Regions from separate parts of the Homo sapiens genome. Here region 1 is linked to region 2. The links are contacts of gene promoters, found by promoter capture Hi-C in blood cells and fetal thymus (Javierre and others, 2016). All regions are on one chromosome and are shown on one strand. Each heading gives the region's core, a stretch centred on a gene start or on the middle of the fragment in contact. The rest is flanking DNA. Distances are from core to core; before and after follow the strand shown.

Evidence for each region. The method cuts DNA at HindIII sites, captures the fragments that hold promoters and counts their contacts. A CHiCAGO score of 5 or more calls a contact.
Region 1: the fragment with the promoter of WRNIP1 here is called in contact with a fragment that was not itself captured in region 2 in 1 of 17 cell types (neutrophils); the score reaches 5.1 in neutrophils.

What each region holds. Positions count from the first base shown.
Region 1 is chr6:2,763,608-2,767,068 of GRCh38, reverse strand. WRNIP1 (WRN helicase interacting protein 1) reads right to left here and starts at 1,676. Exons shown (of 7, transcript NM_020135.3): 1 at 625-1,676. The coding sequence starts at 1,446. It also overlaps a transcript of MYLK4 not described here. RefSeq lists silencers at 756-1,075, 1,246-1,705, 1,866-1,915, 2,296-2,385 and enhancers at 1,840-2,134, 2,232-3,111. The HindIII fragment of the contact is 13,290 bases long and covers 1-3,461 here.
Region 2 is chr6:2,223,102-2,226,775 of GRCh38, reverse strand. All of the region lies in intron 1 of GMDS (GDP-mannose 4,6-dehydratase), which reads left to right. Among named protein-coding and RNA genes, the nearest start is that of GMDS, 21 kb to the left of the region's middle. RefSeq lists a silencer at 1-21. The HindIII fragment of the contact is 6,028 bases long and covers 1-3,674 here.

The sequences.
Region 1 (3,461 bases), core at 427-2,926, 540 kb before region 2:
ATACCGGATGAAAATGACTTGCAGATGAAAAAGTTTTTATGTTAGTTTTGTAAATACATGAGTATATTTAGTAAAATCAATATATTCTCAAGAATATAAGAATGTTAAATAAACTTATTCTTAAGAATAAATACCAGTCTGTTAAACCAACAACTAGTGGAAAAGGAAGGAAGCACAACAGAATTAATTTGATTTTTTTCAAAGCTGAATCCGTTATTATGTACAAACGGAATATACAAATGTTTCTTTACAATTTAAACATGCTGATTCCTTGCGAATTCGGTTACTAAATCAAAGTCTGGGGAGGGGGCGGGGAGACCGATGGAAGATAAAGGCAGATCAAATCTAAGAGTCCACATCTTGTAAAACTATGGATTCACAGACATCGTCCTTTTGCAAACCCGGCAAGCCTGCCTTACCAATCTGGGGGTGTGTGCCCTTTTCACACCCATCACAGACTCCACCTGTGGACCAGGCACTGCCCCAGCCCAGCCCAAGTCTGCACCCCCTTATCCAGGAGAGGCAGGCGGCTTCTTTCGAGGGCAGCACACCCGGCTCTCCGACCATCAGCTGCATCCACCGCCGAGATAACTACGGAAGCCCAACGGCCAAGGCCGCACTCACCTTGCCGCAGCCCGGCGGCCCCCACAGGATAAGCGAGGGGATTTCGTTGGTCTCCAGGAGCGAGCGCAGCAGGGTATCCTGGCCCACGGCCTTGCTCTGCCCGAAGTAATCCTGCAGCGTGTCAGGACGCATCGTGTCGGCCAGCGGCTTGCCCTGTAGCATCTGTCGGATCTCCTCGGCAGCCAGCGCCCGGGGGTGCGGGCGGCCCCCGCCACTGGCCCCGAAGGCGGTGGCGGCTTCGGCAGCGTCCGCGTCCCAGTGCCCCGGGTCGTCCTCGCCGTCCGCGTCCGCGTCCCCGTCGCCATCGCCGTCGCCCACGGCCTCCTCCTCCTCCTGCGCCTCCGCCTCGTCCCAGCTGCGCGGAGACGCGCTCCCCGCCGCGGCGGCGGCCGCCGGCCTCTTCCCCGACCCCTTCCTCCCGGGGCTGCTGGAGCGGGCCACCGGGAAGTCGGGGATAAGGCGGGCGCCGCTGGGTGTGGGCGGCGCGTCGTAGCTCTCGCGGCTCTCGGTCTCGCCGCCGTCGTCGCCCTCCTCACCCTCGCCCTCGCTGCTCTCGGCTGCCGTCGGGGTGGCTGGCTGCTTCAGCGCCGAGCTCTCCGACAGCCGCCGCCTCTTGGCGCCGGGCGGCGAGGGCCCCTTGGCCCGCTCCCCGGCGCGGTGCGACCCGGCCGCGGGCTCCGCGTGCCCCGCCGGGTGGAGCAGCAGACAGCGGTCCAGGTGCGAGTTGATGTGCGCGGCGGGCATCATCTGCTGGCACACGGGGCACTGCACCTGGTGCAGCTGCGAAAGGAAGGGGTCGTCTTCCGGCCCGCTCACCTCCATGGCGGCCGCCGCCCTCCCCGGCGCCCGGCGCGGCCGCAGCAACCCGTGCGCACGCGGAGGCCTTCGATGCCCTCCGCTAGGCCCCGCGCCGCGAGACCCTCGCTCGGGGAACCAGCAGGACGCTCGCGGGCCGGAGGAGGGCGCCGCTCATGCCTCACGTCCGCAGCTCCCGCGTCCGCCCGCCCTCGGCCGGCCGCTGGCAGCGCCTCACGCGGCGTGTCGGGAAGTGTAGTTCGTGGCCGTTTGCCCCGGCGGCGGAGGCGCCTCGCGCGGCATGTAAGTAAGTGTAGTCCGTGGCCGTTTGCCCCAATCACCGCCGAGAATACCTCGCGCGGCACTTCGGGAAGTGTAGTCCGCGGCCATTCGCCCCAGCTGCCGTGCGTCCATTTCCGACTCTGAGAACAGCCTTTGCGGGGGCGGGGGAGGGGCGGGGGGGGGGGTTGCGAGGCGAGCGTGGTGCGCGTGCGCGAGGTTGCGCGGTGGCGGACGCAGCCCTCCGCCCAGGCCTGCGAGTCGCGCGAGGGCAGGGAGGAGCCACGGACTGCGCGAGGTTGTTGGAGCGGCGAGCGCCGCTTTCCCGGCCTTCCGTGCTGGGCTGTTGAATGGGCCTGTGGGGACAAGCAGGAGGCGGCCGCAGCGGGTCGTTTGTAACGAAAGGGAAATGGGGGAAAAAACCCAAAAGCCTCCAATAGAAAACCAGTGTTCTATTGGACGTGAACAGCAGAAAAAATACAAACAAGTACGCGAGTGAAAGAAATGCTCACCTCAGTAGTGGTCAGGGAAATGAAAATAAAGCGTCCCTCGCCCCCTTTTAGATGTGTTGGCGTTTAAGTCAAGGGCGGTTCACCTACAGCGCGCTTCGAGCCAAGAGATGCTTCTCGCGGGCCGCTGTGTAATAGTGGCAAATCGGAAACACCAGCCTTCTGTCTCCTTAGCAACCAAATGATGGGAGGCGCCCGTGTGCAATTACGTCCTAGACGGATAGAAATGGAAAGAATATCAGATTAAAACAAGTGTGGTAGTCTGCATCTTTGAATGAATTACCATGTTATTTTTTGCTTTTGTCTAAGTCTCCCGTTTTAAAACATGTATCTCAAAACAGGCATTTTTGGTAACTAGAAGAGGTAAATGAATTGAGGGAGAATGAAGACTTTTCCGAAATTTGGCCAAAACTTGAATTTTTATTTCATCTGGGCAAGAGCACATTGAGGGTCTCACTCGTTCTGTCGCCCAGGCTGGAGTGCAGGGCCGCGACCAGAGCTCACAGCCTTGAACTCCTGGGCGCCCGGGACCCTTCCGCCTTAGCCTTTGGAGTCGTCCTGGGGTTACAGGCTGAGCCACCACGCCTGGCTGGCTGGTTAAGAGTTGTTTCTAACTAAAAAAGTTAGGCTCAAAAATAAGATTAATAGAAACGCTAGAGAAACAAGTTAAACTTTAATCATCATGTAACGTGAAACTACCAAAAGAGGATCGTGAGCTTTCATTATTTTTTTGAGACGCAGTTTCACTCTTGTCCAGGCTGGAGTGCAATGGCGCAATCTCAGCTCACGGCAACCTCCGCCTCCCGGGTTCCAGTGATTCTGCTGTCTCAGCCTCTCGAGTAGCTGGAATTACGGGCGTCCGCCACCACACCCAGGTAATTTTTTTGGATTTTTAGTACAGACGGGGTTTCTTCCTCGAACTCCCGACCTCAGGTGATCCGCCCACCTCGGTCTCCCAAAGTGCTGGGATTACAGGCATGAGCCACTGCGCCCGACCGTGAGCTTTTTTTTTTCATTTGTCCCTCAGCAGTGAGAGGTGACAGCATTCTGGCAGCCCTCTCAGTCCTCGCTCGCTCTCAGCGCCTCCTCTGCCTTGGCGTCCACTCCGGCCGTGGTTGCGAAACCCTTCAGCCTGCCGCTGTACTATGGGAGCTCTTTCCTGGGCGGGCCAAGGCCGGAGCTGGCTCCCTCAGCTTGTGGGGAAGTATGGTGGGAGAGGCGCGGGCGGGAACCGGGGCTGCGCGCGGTGCTTGC
Region 2 (3,674 bases), core at 2-2,501:
ATAGACATTTGTGTGTATATTTTAGTTCACATGTTAGGTGTTTTTAATGGTTTCATATTATTTTGAGTGATAGAATTTAGGAGAGTAAATGCTAGTAGAATCAGAGTTCATTAGTTTTTGACATGTTATATGCAAACACTTAAAAAAATTCCTGTGATGTTTGCTGAAGTTTGCATTTCCAGATACTCATATTCCATTTCTGTGTATTCTGATAGGAGGGTTATAATATCTCTGTTGTTGGGGCTATTGCTCTGGAGTATTTATCGATTAACTTTTGTTAATGATATACTCTGTGAAAGCACTTTATTAACTGGATTAAAAAAATTAATTGTAGCACACAGTAATGCGAAAATTTAGTTGGAATGTTGCCCTTATGGACAGTTATCATAGGCAGAATCTAACTCTTAGATGGGAACAGCAATCATGATCTCACAGGTCTCCTACAGCTCTGACAAATTCTTTCAAAATTAGTGAACTGCATTCTGGGTCTCTACTATAGAAGAGTCTCTGACTTCACGGGTTTCATGTTATTTCTACCCAGGAATCAGGATGCCTCACCCAAAGGCAGTTTTGACAAAATTAAAGTATATTGTTGGTGAGTGTCCAGAAGAGAGTGAAAACTGGGATGGCCTGGCTCAGTGTTGGTCTAGCAGAAACTACCTCTAGTGTAATTGTTTCCTTTCTCCCTCCTCTTTGTTTTCTGCCTCTATTTCATTTCTTTCTTTTCACAGTTTTTTCTTTTCTATTCCTCTCTCTTTTTTTCTTTTCTTAGGTTAGGCTTTCAGGGGCTGGAATGGGAGCAGAGTTCACCTGCCAGGAAGTGAGAATGGCAGGAAAGCTGGAATGGCAGTCCTTGGCTCTCCTGTGGTCGAGGTCTGATTACCTTCTAGGTAGTCATTGTGTCCCAGGAGATTTCAGAGAACAAACAGTGGAATCTTATTTAAATAGTTCTGTTAGGAGCATTAATGTTGTTTGTAGGTCATGGTCCAGATGGAAGCTGGCCCTTTTCTGACAAATACCTGGAAACATTTCCTTATTCTACTGTACGTTAGGATTTTGCAATCATTCTTTTCTGATCCCTAGCTTACTGGATAATCACAAAGGCTTTTTACTTCCTTTGTGCTGTAATATTGATCATCTGTGTTGGTTGGTTTACAGCCAACACACTGATCCGGATGCAAGCCGGAAAATCTAAGGGTTGGCAAATGATTCGTCATTTGCATAGAACAGCCTAGGACTCTTCAGAATGAACTTATGGAAGAGAGCTGTGGCATAGGAGCAGGAGAAGGTACAAGTTAGGGAGCAGTTTGGTATTGCACTTCATCTTTAGTTCAGCTTTGTTGCAGGGATCAAGACTGCAAGTTAAAGGGCAAGTTAGGGGGCACCTCTGTCTTTAATGAGATCATAGGATAAAGGCTTATTTATTTGTTTGTTTGTTTATTTATTGAGACAGGGTCTTGCTTGGTTACTCAGGATGGAGTGCGGTGGTGCAGTCTTGGCTTACTGAAGCCTTGACCTCCCCAGCTCAGACAATACTTCTGCCTCAGCCTCCCGAGTAGCTGGGACCACAGTTGTGCACTACCATGCCCAGCTAATTTTTTTTTTTTTTTGTATTTTTTATAGAAACGAGGTTTCACCATGTTGCCCAGGCTGGTCTTGAATTCCTGGGCCCAAGCGATCCACCCACCTCGGCTTCCCAAAGTGCTGAGGTTACAGGCCTGAGCCACCATGCCCGGCCAAGGCTTACTGTTCATCTCAGGTAGCGTCTGACATCGTGTGGACGTACGTGCGTTCAAATCTCCTCTCTGCCAGTTCTCAGTTCTGTGACTTTCAAGTAATTATTCAGCCTCTCTGTGCCTCAGTTTTCTCTTTTGTAAAGTGAGGATAATGGTACTAGCCATAGGTGAGGGTTGAAGGACACAGTGTCTGGCACATAATATTAATAAATATTCATTAATGTTTTACTCTTGGCTGTCCTGAACATTAGTCTGCTTTGACCTAGAATTCTTTTCCTGAAGACACGCTATAATTTTGATGAGAGTAAACAACTAACTCTTATTTGCATGTTCAAATAAACATGTTTTTATGAAGGTACTTGGTGTTCATTAACAAATGCTATACTTATGATTTTTTTTCTCTGAGACATAATACCAAACTTGTACATAAAATATTTCTGATCACTGATCTTCGCTCCTATAACTATAAAATTATATGTAAAATAGCTAAAAACTACTCAGTGCACTCTTTAGAATATATGTATTTCTCCTATGAGAAGCATCATTGAGATCTTTATTTGGGAAGCAATTAGGTTGCAAATTGAAAACAGTTTCCAACATCATCACCAAACTGAAAATGCCAAGTTGTCTGAGTCTAATGTCCAGAAGTCATTGTGGCCCTGTGGTCAGTGTTCTGCATTAGGGATCCCTGCAACAGAGCTGAATTAAAGATGAAGCACAGTAACCCAACACCTGTGTCAATAAGGGTGGATAATTTCTAGGGTTCCACAACGGGCTGTCAGTATCTTTCTCATTATTCCCCCAGCCTTTGTTTCACAGCCCAGTGGCTTCAGTCACTATGTCCATTTTCTTATCTCTTAAGGACTGTTCAACTCATTATATTTGGTTGCTTTCCCCATCCTACCCTAAACTGTTGTTATATAAGATCTTCTAAATTACCTTTCACGGCTAAACCCTGCAACTTCAGTCCTTGTCTTACTTGCTTTGTTGGCGTGTGTTATCACTGTCACTTTTCCTCTTGATTTTCCCTCCTCTGCTGGTTTTCCTTGTACCTCTTTGTCAGTGCATTGTTCTGCCCACCCTTGCAGGTTAGTGTGTCTTAACATACCATTCCTGACTCTCTCCTACTTTGTTCACTTTCTATGTCTACAACTGCAGTCACTCTTCCCTTGTGAATCCCAAAGCCTTGTCTCCAGTCCAGATTTGTTTCCTGAGTTCCAGACCCTGAGTTCCAAATGCCTCAACATTTCCATGTAGGTATTTCATAGACATCTCCTACTCCACATGTCCCTCCCTTCTATCATCTCTGTGTTTTTCCCCACCCTATTTCAAAGCAGGACCACAATCCATTTGGGAGCCAAAGTCAGAAATCTTGGAGTCATCCTATCGTCCTCCTTTCCCCTCACTCCTCATGTCTTCACCAGCAGGTCCTGCTGATTTTACCCCACTAGCATAGCTTTGGTAGCGGTGTCATCTCTTGTCCTTTCCTTGCCCACATCAGTTACCTTGTCCTGCCTGGGCTGTTATAGTAACCTCCTACCTGGTCTTCTGCTTCCAGTCTTTTTTTTTTCCATTCATTTGCTGCCAGTGAGTTTTAGCTGGAGTGACCATCTGATCATGTCAGATGGTCGCTCCTCAGCTTAAACTATTGGTGGCTCTCTCTTGCCCTGGGGGGAGTGTAAACTCTCCAGTGTCCCAGTGCCTTTGTGACTAGCACTTTCCTGCCTTTGCACCACATGCCCCCTGGCTTGTGTGTGTTTTGTAACCCAGCCATTTTGTACGGATAGTTTCTTGAATTCACCATATCCACATTAGTCATGGTTCTCTGGAGAAACAGAACCAGTGGGATGGATGGATATGGATATATATATATGTGTGTATATATATATAGAGAGAGAGAGAGCGCGCTATTGATTGATTGATTGATTGATTGATTGA